Regions from separate parts of the Homo sapiens genome. Here region 2 is linked to region 1. The links are contacts of gene promoters, found by promoter capture Hi-C in blood cells and fetal thymus (Javierre and others, 2016). All regions are on one chromosome and are shown on one strand. The core of a region is centred on a gene start or on the middle of the fragment in contact, and the rest is flanking DNA. Distances in the headings are between cores, read along the strand shown. Region 1 holds the start of TLNRD1 (talin rod domain containing 1). Region 2 holds the start of LOC124903537 (a long non-coding RNA gene).

Evidence for each region. The method cuts DNA at HindIII sites, captures the fragments that hold promoters and counts their contacts. A CHiCAGO score of 5 or more calls a contact.
Region 2: a contact is called between a fragment that was not itself captured here and the fragment with the promoter of TLNRD1 in region 1, in 1 of 17 cell types (monocytes). The highest score is 5.4, in monocytes.

Annotation. Positions count from the first base shown.
Region 1 is chr15:80,998,760-81,004,977 of GRCh38, reverse strand. TLNRD1 (talin rod domain containing 1) reads right to left here and starts at 4,055. Exons shown (of 1, transcript NM_022566.3): 1 at 1-4,055. The coding sequence starts at 2,706. The coding sequence ends at 1,618. LOC128071545 reads right to left here and starts at 2,836. Exons shown (of 1, transcript NM_001414893.1): 1 at 2,699-2,836. The coding sequence starts at 2,836. The coding sequence ends at 2,699. RefSeq lists an enhancer at 1,380-2,264 and silencers at 2,758-2,887, 3,238-3,697, 3,738-4,427. The HindIII fragment of the contact is 6,287 bases long and covers 384-6,218 here.
Region 2 is chr15:80,477,287-80,483,455 of GRCh38, reverse strand. The region is part of intron 5 of ARNT2 (aryl hydrocarbon receptor nuclear translocator 2); the gene reads right to left. LOC124903537 (a long non-coding RNA gene) reads right to left here and starts at 3,511. Exons shown (of 2, transcript XR_007064731.1): 1 at 1-3,511. RefSeq lists enhancers at 1,733-2,651, 2,652-3,571. The HindIII fragment of the contact is 3,148 bases long and covers 2,319-5,466 here.

The DNA.
Region 1 (6,218 bases), core at 2,806-5,305:
TTTCAGATCTGTGGGAACTGCAAAGGTTTAAGCACAACAAATCCCAAGAAAAATGTAAATGGAACAAATCTAAACCACGTACGAGTTTTTACTCATGTGGCTCTCCCAGGCTTCAGGCACTGTAAATAGATTTGTTGTGCTTTTAGTGGGAAGATATTCAGAATTTAACTAGGTTCAACAAAACTATACACTCCACCACCACTCACACAAAAAGACTCCTAAAAATGTCTGCAGAAAAGACAAACTACCTTAATATTACTCCAAATTCCAATCAAAGATTCTTCCAACATACAATCAACCATGGCATTATCTTAGATCAAGGTCACAAAAACAAGCCCTTGGCCTACAATCATGTTGTGGCTCTAGAACGTTCTTAACAAGCTTTCCAGGATACTTCTTTCCTCTATTAAGCAGTCTAGGACCCTCTCTATATTTTTTCTGAAATCATGAGGATCTTGTCTGAATAGACCTGTGTACATAAAAGATGCTAACTATTCTCACTTGATGTACAGTACTTTTAGAGTTCCATCCAGAGACTCTGAGTTGGGAAGGCTGGCATACCACACAGGATTAGGATTTAATCTGAAAATGATAGGCAGAATACAAATCAGAATTCAAGCAGCCTGAGCCACTGTTCATGATGATGGAAAGGTAAGTGGAGACAAAGGGAGCTAAATCACTTTCCAGGAAAAATGAGACAAAACCGTCCCAAGCACTCTACATAACCCAATCCCATTTGTGTCACCTGCCTTTTAAAATAGAACGTTACACATAGTCCTCTCTTCAGTTCCAGGCTGCTCAAGGGAGTACTTCTTGAGCAGTACTTTTTCTTGAGGAAATAGTAGAAAGGGCTGGGAATTGGGGGCCCGCCTCACTACTATTGAAATAGCCTTCCCACAGACCCTTCCCATACATGACATGCAGCATGCAAAATTACAATTATTGAAAAATCAACAATAATTGCAAAAAGCCATCTGAGAAACATAACATTTTAATAGATGAAATAAATACTCCAGTACATGCAAGGTAAAAACTTGACGTTGGGGGAAAAAAAAATCACTCTATAGTGTAAATTAAAAAAACACACGCTCACAGTAGCTTCCCCCCATTTGCAAATCACATGGCAAATTCATACTCTTTCCACACCAAGTATACTCCTAATTCAACACGATTGCTTAAAAAAAAAAAAGACATACAAAAAAAGGTAGCTACATCCATGTCTAAGGAGTGAAAACTGAGGTAACCTTTCTTTTAATTAAAAACACAAAAAACAAAAATGAAATGAACCCATGACCTCCTTCCTGCCCAATAATGAAATTTAGTTGAGAAATTCCGGAAGACGGGCTGGGGTAGGGGGTGGGAGTGATAACACAACCAGCAGATGACATATCTTCCAGTCCCTACTGCATGGGGGCTGGTGGAGAGACACCTGGGCCCTCCAAGTGCGTGTGCAGGTTGCGTGCATGGCCCTGCCTTGTGGAAGATTCCTCTCGAGCATTTAACGTTGGGGAGGGTAGGGGGTTTCACCTATGATTTCTTTGGTATAAATGGAGAGGGGCAGAGAGTAAGTATCTTCCTTTAGTCTGGGGGTGGAAGAAGGGGTATGGGGGTGGGGTGCTAATTCACAGAATTGGAATTCACTGGCGGTAAAGTCCTGGGCGAAGACCTCTCCCTTAAAGCCTGAGATAGCAGGGTGCAGCCTTCAGACACGGCGCAGGCCGAGTTCCTCAGCCTCTCCCTGTGGTCCGACATCTTGGCGCCCCCGTCGGGGTGCTGCGCCAGATCCCTGAGGCACTGGGTCAGGAGCACGCAGGCCGACACCACGCTCATGGCGCCGCCCAGGATGGCGGTCTGCACCGCCTTGCCCTCGGCGCTCACAGCTGCCGCGCGACCCAGGAACTGCGGCTCGGTGGCGAAGCCTACCAGGGCGCTCACTGCCTGCACCAGGGGCCCGCTGAAGAGCGCACAGCGGCTGCGCGCCAGCTCACTGGGCGCCACCTTCACCTCGCGCACGCAGGCCAGCAGCGCCGACGCGCTGGTGCTCATGCACTTGACGCCCAGCTTGAACTGCTCCCGCGAAAAGCGGTCCCGTGACTTGTCACTGGCCAGGGCGCACGCGTCCGTCAGGAACTTGAGGTTGCGCGACAGGCCCTGCGACACCTCCAGCAGCAGCTGCGGCGTCATGTCGGCCAGCGGCGTGGCGCGCAGCACGGCGCAACCCTGCTCCACCTCGTGGCGGCATCGCGTCACGCGGTAGCGGTCCACCAGGCCCGGCTGCGCGGGCTGGGCGCCCGGCGTGGCCACAGCGGCCAGATAGGCCGCGTGGGCCGAGCACTCGGTCAGCGACACCACCAGGTCGCCCAGCTCCACCAGGCTGTCCCCCGCCTCCCCGAAGCGGCCCATGTTGAGCTGGCTCTGCACGTCGTGGGTGAGGATGGAGAGCCCCTTGGTGCGCGCGATGATGGTGTCCCGGCACTGCTCGAAGGACTCGGCGCCGGCACCAGAGGAGGCGGGGCCCTCGAAGAGCACGGGCCGCGCCTCGCTCGACAGCAGCAGCAGGTCAGCCACCAGCTGCATCTTGCCCTTGCAGTGGTCGCAGACGGATACCAGCCTCTTCCGCGGCTGCGAGCTGGCCCCGCCGATGGCGCTCGCAGGAGCCGGAGAAGCCGCCTCGCCAGTGGGCTTCCCGGCGCTGCCGCTAGCCATCGCGCCCGGGGGGCACTGGCATGCCGCTGGGGAGCCCGCTACCACCGCCGCTGCCGCGGCCACTGCCGCCGCCCCGGCGGCCGTCGCGACTCAGCTGGCCAAGGCCGCGGTGCCTTCCCCGCACCATCATGCCATCCACCGCCGCGGGCAGAGGGCACTGGGCTGCGGCGGCGGGAGCCCGGGCGGCGCGGGGTGGGCCCGAGGGCGAGAGAACGCGGAAGGCTCTTCGGGGCAAGGGGAGGGGCTGCAGCTTTCGGCCTCCTAGAGGGCTTGCAGGAACCATGAACCGGGGCAGAGCAAACTCACTGTCCGCGCTCCTCGTCGCCGGGCTGCCAGGAAAGTCCCTTCTGCTGGTTCGCCGCCGCCGCCGCCTTCTTGGGCATGGCCTGGCGCGGCCCTCGGAGCGGGGAGGGCGGGACGGGGAAGCTGGGAGTTGTCCTTCCTTCCTTCCTTTCTTTGAAATCAAAATCCTTTCCTCGGGGAGGAGCGCGGGAGGCAGCTCAGGCGGGCTGTGCTGTCAGCCGCCGCGCTCGAGGCCACCTCGGGCTCGGCGGCGCACGTGGGCTTCAGGCGCCGTGACCCCACCAGGCGGCACTTCCCCGCGACGGCGGCCGGGGCTGGCTCTCTGGGACGCGCGGCCGCCCCGGGCGCATCTCCTGCCTCCAGCTCTTGGGAAGCGGCGCCGGCGGCAGCGGGGCAGAGGGTGTGGCCGGCACTGTCGCGGCCGCGCCGAGTCAGAGTCGGGCGGGAGCCTGCACTGATTGCGCACAGCGGCCGCCCGGATCGCGCTCAAGCTCTCGCCCGCCCGCCACACGCCCGGGCGTGCCGAGCACCACGGCGGCCCCTTCCCGCCTCGCCGGTTCACAGAGCGCGGCCCGGCGCCGCGGCGGCACGCCCTCCCAGACCGCGCGCCCGGCGGCCCGGCGCTGGCTGTCTACGCAAGTCCATCCCTGTCGCCTCGTCTGGGGCCCGCAGCAGCTGAGCTCTCCCGAGGCCCCGGGCCCCGCGCATCGGACGCCCCTGCACGAGTCTCCCTGCCACCGGGCCAACTCAGAAGGTCCCCGCGGCGCTGCGGCAACCGGCCCGGGCCCCGGCTCCTGCCATTTTTGTCAACCGCCAACTTCCGAGCGAGCGGGCAGAAACTGAAAGGAAGGGCGGGGGCCGAAAGGCAGAGGGGAAAACACCCGCTTCCTCTCCGCGCGCGGCTTCACCTCGGAGCGCGGCCGTGGCTGCGCCGCCGCCCGCAGGGGCTGCCGGAGGCTTTTCCTGTTCCCGTCCGCGCCTCGCCCCCGGGCTCGCCGCCGCCGCCGCCTCGGCCGTAACCTCCCTGGAGCCTATAGAAATCTTTTGTGTGGCGTCACCGCCTTTCGTTTAAATCCCGCTTCCTCCTCTCGCCCTTCCTCCCGCCCCCTCCGCCGCTCCCGGATGCTTGCGCGATGCGCTGCTCCTCCCCCGGGAAGCTGGGTGGCTGCGGGGGACGCCGCCGCCCAACGCGGACGCTGCCGGCGTGGGGCCGGTGGTCCTGAACTCCCCCGTGGTCCTGGGCCGAGAGACTGGGGGAGCGGACAGGGGAAGGCCTGCTCCGGCCCGGGGGCTCTGCGCACACCCATGGGAGACCGGGGCGCAGCCGCCCGCGGGCCTTACGTAAGCTCTTAGCCGGACCAGGGGGCTCCACGCTTCCTCCCCGCCAAGAGAGCAAGTCTAAAAGGTGACCTGGCTTCTGGGCTGAAGGGAGGAGGACACTGGATTTCGGCCCCTGGTGATTTGCTGGGGCCGGTGGGTCGTCTCGGTCTGCGCGACTTCGCCCGGTTTTCCAACGCCCCCTGCCCTTTGTTGTGTTTGATCCACTTCCACGATGGGTTTCCGACCAGCAGTGCAGTGTAACGAAAAGAGGAAAAGAGCACTGGATGGGGAGTCCGAAGAGTGGTGCTAGATGCCTGCCCGTTCCTCCCTTGAAATACGCCTTATGCAGTGAGAGCGCGGGTTCTGAAGCAGATTTCCTAGGATCAGCCTTTCTCAAGCCATTTATGAGTTCCATGACATTGTTCAAGTTCTCTTTCCAAGTATCCGTCTTCTCTTCTAGAAATTAGAGATTGTGCACAGGCTGCTTGAGTACTTGGTTCCTAAACAGTAGCTGTTAGAATTATTATGAGCCCTGATCAGCGCACTTTGCCCTCTCATAACGTCTATTTATTCGTCTGTATAATGGAATAATAGTGGCTGCTGTTAAATGAATTAAATACGACGGCGTTTGGAGGGAAACATTACTACTCCAGTTTTACAGATAAGGAAACTGATGATCAGGTGCTTGAAGTGACTTCCGAAGATCAGGAAGACAGCATATGGCAGGGACAGGAACCCACGCCTACGCCCCAGCCTCTTTTTACCGAACCTTGTTCTTCAGGAAGTGGTTAAAACACCTGGGCTACTCCCAGCAAAACGCCAGTCACGCAGTCCTGAAACAGGTCCTCTAAGGTGCCCAGCCCAACACAGGCTGGGCGTGCTGAGCCAACAGAATGTTTGTTCCTCTGTCCCTTCCTAGAACCCCAAGTCACCTTTCTCCAGCCAGTTAAAAACGTTACTTTTAACTAGGATGACGTTTCAATTTATCGGCCATATCCAAGCATTTCTGAGAATGAACTGTGAGACATGCTATTAATAAATTAACCATGAACAGCAGGTTCAAACCTGGATGGATAGTCATCCTACTTATAACTGAAAGTATCCTTAAATATCTTTAGAATCCGGATGAGCCCACTTAGTTTGCAAACCGAGGTCAATAAAACTGACTTGAAATAGGAAGTAATTATGTAGGGTTAATTCCTTTTTTTCTTCTACAAGAGAAAAAAAAAACAGCTGGATAAGTCAAGGTTTTTCCATGGTGACCCAGGGATTGCACCTTAGTCCTTCTTAAGCTCCAAAAACTTATGAGAGGGGGCCGAAAGCGATGGCTCACACCTGTAATCCCAGCACTTTGGGAGGCCAAGGCAGGCGCATCACGAGGTCAGGAGATCAAGACCATCCTGGCTAACACAGTGAAACCCCGTCTCTACTAAAAATGCAAAAAATTAGCCGGGCATGGTGGCGGGCGCCTGTAGTCCCAGCTACTCGGGAGGCTGAGGCAGGAGAATGGCATGAACCCGGGAGGCGGAGCTTGCAGTGAGCGGAGATCGCGCCACTGCACTGCAGCCTGGGCGACAGAGGGAGACTCCGTCTCAAAAAAAAATAAATAAATAAATAAATAAAACTTATGAGAGGGAAGTCAGACTGTTCTGTGCCTAGTTTATTCTTGAGGCTGCTCTAAGATCAGATTTTTTTTCCAAAGCCACGTAGTGCCCCTGGGGGTCCCATTTTCCCTTTCTTCTACATATGCAGTCTGTTTTGTTGTTGATGGAAACCCACCCCGACAATGAGTTGTGTTACACACAGACTGTCCACTCTATTCAGTGAGGTTTGGTTTCATTTTTAAAACTGATAGCATTGTTTTCTCGGCCTTCCCTGCTTCATTTTTC
Region 2 (6,169 bases), core at 2,643-5,142, 520 kb after region 1:
AGCTGCTCCCCACCAAGGCCTGGTCGCCTGAGAGCTGTACAAACACAAGTAGGGCAGTTGAGTCACTCAGGCAGATCCCATCACTTCATGCCAGTCCCAGATGCCAAAGGATGCCCTCGACCCAGGTTGCTGCAAGCAGCCCCCAGCACAATCACTATTTGCTAAATTCTTTAGTTCAGCAGTTCTCAAACTAAAATGTGCATCGAAGTATATAAGTTCCTCGGGAATCCTATTAAAATGTACATCCTGATTCAGTAGGCCTGGGATGGGAGCTGCAATTCTGCATCTCTAAGAAGCTCCCTGCACTTCATGGATGCAAGTGCAGTGTACCCATGAAACACACTTAACAGATTTTACCAGGGTTTACCTTCCAAGTAAACTCAAATAAACATGTGCATGGAGTTCTATAATAAGACATTTCACAAAGTCATAGATTCCCCAACTTTCTGAGGAGTAAAGCTAAACTCAGAGATCAAAGAGCTTGGCAAAGCCAAGAATAACAGTGGACTCAATCCAGATAACTTGATATGAAGTCCCAGGATGGTTTCACCAAGTCAGTTGTTCTCAAACTTTAACATGCATCACGATGACTTGAAAGGTAGGTGAAAATACAGATCTCTGGGCCTCCAGAGCTTCTGATTCAGTGGGGAAGAATCTGCATTTCTAACAAGTTCACAAGTGATGCTCATGCATCTGGCCTAAGGACTACACTTTGAGAAGTGCTCCACTAGACTACACAGGATCCTAGAGACCCCTGCATCCGAGCCTCAGTCTCAGAGCTTTGATGCCATTCACCACTCATATGCCCAAACCCCACTAAACGCTGTTCTGGCTCCTGGTGCCCCAGGGATATTGGGTCACGCCAAGGCTTTTTTGTCTCTAGATGCCCCAAAGGCAATAAGCTTCTTTGGCATTGACTACGAGCTCTACTTTGTAGCAGCTGTTTGGCCTCAGGTGTGTGGCCCTGAGAACTTCTCAGTAACTTCAAGCCTCATGCTCCTGACCTGTGAAATGGGGCCGATAATCCCCATGCATAGGACCTTGATGAGCCCCAGACAACAAATGGTTCTCAACCCTTCCTGTGCATCAAAATCACCTGGGAAGGTTTAACAAAACGCCAGTGCCCAGCTCCCTTCCCCAATCCTGGGCAAGTGTATTTATCAAATCTACCCAGGTGATTGATGCTAATGTGCAGCTAGGGTTGATATCCACTGAAATAGGTAAACGTGCTAGAAACATGCAAGATGGCCCACTGCGGTGGCTCATGCCTATAATCCTGGCACTTTGGGAGGCTGAGATGGGAGGACTGTTTAAGTCCAGGAGTGTGAGACCAGCCTAGGCAAGATGGCAAGACCTCATCTCTACAAAAAAATTAAAAAATTAGCTGAGTGCAGTGACACCCACCTGTAGTCTCACCTACTTGGGAAGCTGAGGTGGGAGAAATGCTTGGGACCCTCCTAGGCTCAAGAGAGGCTGCAGCAAGCTATGACTGTGCTACTGCACTCGAGCCTGGGTGACAGAGCAAGACCTTGTCTCTACAAAAAAAATTTAAAAATGAGCCAGGCATGATGGTGTACACCTGTAGTCCCAGCTACATGGGAGGATGAGGCTGAAGGACTGCTTGAGGCCAGAAGTTTGAGAACAACCTAGGCAATGTAGTGAGACCCTATATCTAAAAAAGTAAAAGAATTCATTACAGCTATTAATATTTCACTGTTATGGTATTTATTTATTTGTTTATTTGAGACAGGGTCTCGCTCTGTCACCCAGGCTCGAGTGTAGAGGCACAATCATGGCTCACTGCAACCTGGACCTCTTGGGCTCAAGCGATCCTCCCACTTCAGCCTCCTGAGTAGCTGCAGCTACAGGTGCATGACTCCACACCCAGCTAATTTTTTTAAATTTTTTTGTAGAAGTAAGGTCTTGCTATGATACTCCGGCTGGTCTCAAAATCCTGGACACAAGCAGTCCTCCTGCCTTAGCCTCCCAAAGTGCTGGGAGTACAGGTGTGAGCCACCCACCCAGCTGTGATGGTTTAATGAGAAGAATAAATGCAACATGCACCGAGTGTCCCACAGACGTCCTCTCTCCCAGGCAGGGAGACTCTTCAGTGAATGCACCATCTTTAAACTCTCATGGAAATGCAGCCTGATGAAAGGTATATGAGCAGAGCTGCAGAGCTGGCTGAAAATGGCTCCCCGGTGAGCTGTTCTCGTGAGCTGCTATCTGTGCCCAGACCACAGCCTAGCCAAATCCTGTGATCCAAGGCTGAAAATATCTCTGGATTTCCATGAAGCTCTCAGGGAGATAGGAAAGCTTAATCACAGCTGATTGGGACATGTGAATCATGCACAGGAACTTTCCAGCCAGATCCCTTGGGGACCAACCTGGCTCAGGCTCTCTACAAATTATCACAAAGAATCCCGGCTGGAATAGTTGGCAAATGGGGGTCCATTCATTCAACAACAGCTGGGGATTCCTGCATATAGGAGATAGGGGAAGGAGAGGCTGATCGCAAGGTAAGCTGCATCCCACATAACCTTTCTACAGCCATGCAAGGCAGGTATTTGTTGAATGGATGAATAAATGAATAAACTAAGTAGTGGTCAGAGAAAGAAAGAAAGAGGGAAGGAGGAAGGAGGGGAGAGAGAGAGAAGAAAGGAAGCAAAGAAGGCAGGCAGGCAGGCAGGCAGGAAGGATGGGGAGAGGAAGGGAGGGAGGGAGGAATTTGGCCTTTGCTTGCACCCTCTTCTGCTGTTGGACAGCTCTATTTTGAAGCTATTTTCTACACTGAACCAAAATGCTGACCCAATTCTCTGAATGCAGGAAGAGTCCAGCAGAAACAGAGCCATGGAAGTATGATGCAGGGGAAACAGGCCAAATCGACCTTGTCTTGAAGAGTCCGTGGGTTATGCTTGTGCACATCCACTTTCCAGCCAGGACAGCCAGGCGGTCCCCACCCAGGGCAGTGCTTGAGGTCACCCACAAGGCGCCTCCAGTTCTGCTCACCAGGATCAAGGTTCTCCAGAGTTCAACAGCCACAGGAGGGAACCTGGGAAAGGCCACCGGAAGGCACAAAGAATCTGCTCACTCCATGCTCCCTTGGGCGGCCCCTGCTGAGCTGCTTCTGCTGCTCCCTGCTTGCTCTCTGAACCCCACCTCTTGGGCATATCCAGTTACAGTCACAGGCTCTGCTATCACCTGGAATGCCCTGGGCCTCTCCTCAGCTCCTCTCCTTCCCTGCAGAGAGCTGGGGCTTAGGCCACTCAGATATCCAGGATCATTAATTCTGTGGCCCCTCCCTGACACCACTCCCATCTGATCCTGGCACCTCCATGCTCCATCTTCTTCTCAGAATCCTGTAACCCAAACATCCCAGCATTCCTGGTGAGAGGAAAAGGCACTTTCATTCTGCAGAACACTCGTCCTTCCCCATAAGGAGCTCCTCCAATACCACCGAGGCCAGCTCTCCTGAGCCAGCCAGTGCCTGCCTGCCCACTTGTCTCTTCTTTCTTTTAGTGACAGACAGCACCTGATTTCCTCCAAGAGGGAATCTTCTCTTTCTGAATCCAAGTGCCTTGGGTGGTGAGGTAGGTGGACCTCACATCTTAGCTCAGAGTCTCCCTGGCCATCAGGATCAGCCAACAGCAGGGCAGGTAGACCAAAATGAGCCAAGAGAGCCGGGCCCAGGATGTTTGCGGCAACCACTGGAGGAAGGCACCCTGTTTCTGCTGAGCCTTCAGAATAGGTCCTCTTGGGTTTTTCACCAGTCCCCCTCCTCCAATCTGCCTCCATTTCATACATTGGTGGATGAGGCCTTGAACAAAAGAGTAGAATCAGAGCTGGAAGGAGCCTTAGAAACTTCCTGGGTCAAGATGAGGGGAATGAGGGTTAGAGAAGAAAGGAACTTGCCAAGATCACAAAGTGAAAACCAGAACAAAAGCAGGGAGCTCCCAACTCCCTTTCCAGCACTTTTCCACTAGCAGTGTCATTGTTGTATGGTAAGGCTTCACCCATTCTCTCTCCATGTGGATAAATTCCAGTTTTATTCGCAGACAAGTCAGATCATGACAAGTCACATCACTCCATGATGTTTCTAAGGAGACTGTATATAACCTTTCACCCACTCTTTGTCACCACCTCTCCAGCTAGGAAAAAATTTAATTCAACAAAGAACTCCACCATCACCCTCACCCCAGATGCTGAAACTCTTTGACAGCATATTGATTTTCTGGGGTCCCTGAGCCAACATGGGAGTCTGCAGGCCCCAGTGAAGTCAGGTTTCTTGTCCCCTCCCCTGTGCACATGCAAACCTCCACACATTCAGTACAGGTGACCCTGCAGGTCCAACGAATGAGACATTGAATCACCACTGAGAGAGGCTCAGAGGAGGGAAACTCCACTGGGAAAGGAGGTCAGGCTGCCCTAGTTAAGCCACCTCCACTCCAGCAGGCCTTGCCTGGCTCCCTGCCTCGCCTCAACACCCTTCCACCCTGACTCTCCCAAAGTGGACCATGTCACCTCTTTCCAGGCCTAAAACCACATGAGTCAAGGGACAGGAGGGTTTGAGAGACTCTAGTCCAATAATTGAAGGCATTAAACCACACCTGAGGCCTTTTAATACAATTTTAAAATTATGCTTGGGCTGGTTACATATGAAACCCACTCCAGTCCTGTCCTGAGCACCAGGAAAACCCTAAGGCCTGTCTGAGTAGCAGCCCAGTTTCAGAGAGCTCTTCCAAGCTCTCCCCCACGGAATCAATAAGAGCTTGTTGCATGTTCTAGGAAAGTCGCATCACACCCTATGACTGCAAAAGAGACCCTGTCCTCTCTTCCACCCTAAGAATAAGAACCCACTTCTCCAGCCTCATCTTGTTCCTGACAAGACGGGCTTGGCCCATAGGCAAACTCAGAGACCTGGCTCTTCACCTTTCACAGGGCCTTCTCTGGCATCTTGGAGGACACCCTCCACTGTACTGGTTCTGGCTGCCTTGGCCACAGTCCAGTGTCCACTCCGAGGACATTTCTGTCCAAATGTGGTTCACATCGCCTGTTTAAACTCTCCCAGACACATTCAGACTTCACATGGACAGAAATGTCCACCCAACTATGATGAACCAGCTGGCTACACCCTTGGCCAGAGCCTGACCTGCCTTGACCATCGCTTCCCTGGCAGCTTCCCCAGCTGGGTCTCCAGACTGGGTTTCCAAAAGCCACATCCTGTGGTCACATATAGAAGTCTGGGAAAGACAGCACTTTCCAGAGAAGGTGATTTCAGCTGTCAAACCAACATTTCCTGGTTGGTTGGTTTTCCCCTTTTACATTCCTCCCAAATATTTAACTTTATAAGGTGTGTCCCTTAGGATTTCTATATGGAGTTTGCTAATTCAGGCAGGAGAATGGGGTAGCAGAAAGAGTCTTTCTGAGCCTATTTCAGCATCGCTGTTTTACAAGAACATCAAAGCTTACTGCCAGGAGAAAAAGACACTGTCTTTACACCTTAATTCTCTATCCTCTTCCTCCTTTTTTACATCTTTGATCACCAGCACTGAGAAAATTACTAATATCCTTCCAAAACAGCTGTACACTTCTCACTTTTAGCAACATCAAACTCACTCTTATCATAAGTGTTATTATAGGTGGAATTGTGTTCCCCGCTAAAATTAGTATGTTAAAGTCTTAATCCCCAGTACCCCAGAATGTGACTGTATTTGGGAGACAGGACTTTTAAAGAGATTGTTAAGCTTAAATGAGATCATATGGGTGAGCCCTAATTTAGTGACTGGTGTCCTCATAAGAAGAGGCAGAGACACAAAAGATTCGTGCACACAGAGGAGAGACCTACACTTAGGCTGGTTATAATTCTTGTGAGAATGCAAGAAGGTGGCCATCTCCAAATCAAGGAGAAGGGCCTTAGGGGACAACAAACCTGATGATATACTGATCTTGAATGCAATGGACTAAATGCTTACGCTCTCCCCAAATTCGTACGCTGAAATTCTAATCTCCCAGATGATGATATTAGGACATGGGGCCTTTAGGAGGTGATTAGGTACTGTTATAAAACAGATCCCAGATAGATAGCTAGTCCCTTCCACCATGTGAGGACACAGCTAGAAGGCAACATCTAGAAAGTAGGCCCTTGCCAGACATCAAGGTGCCTTGATCT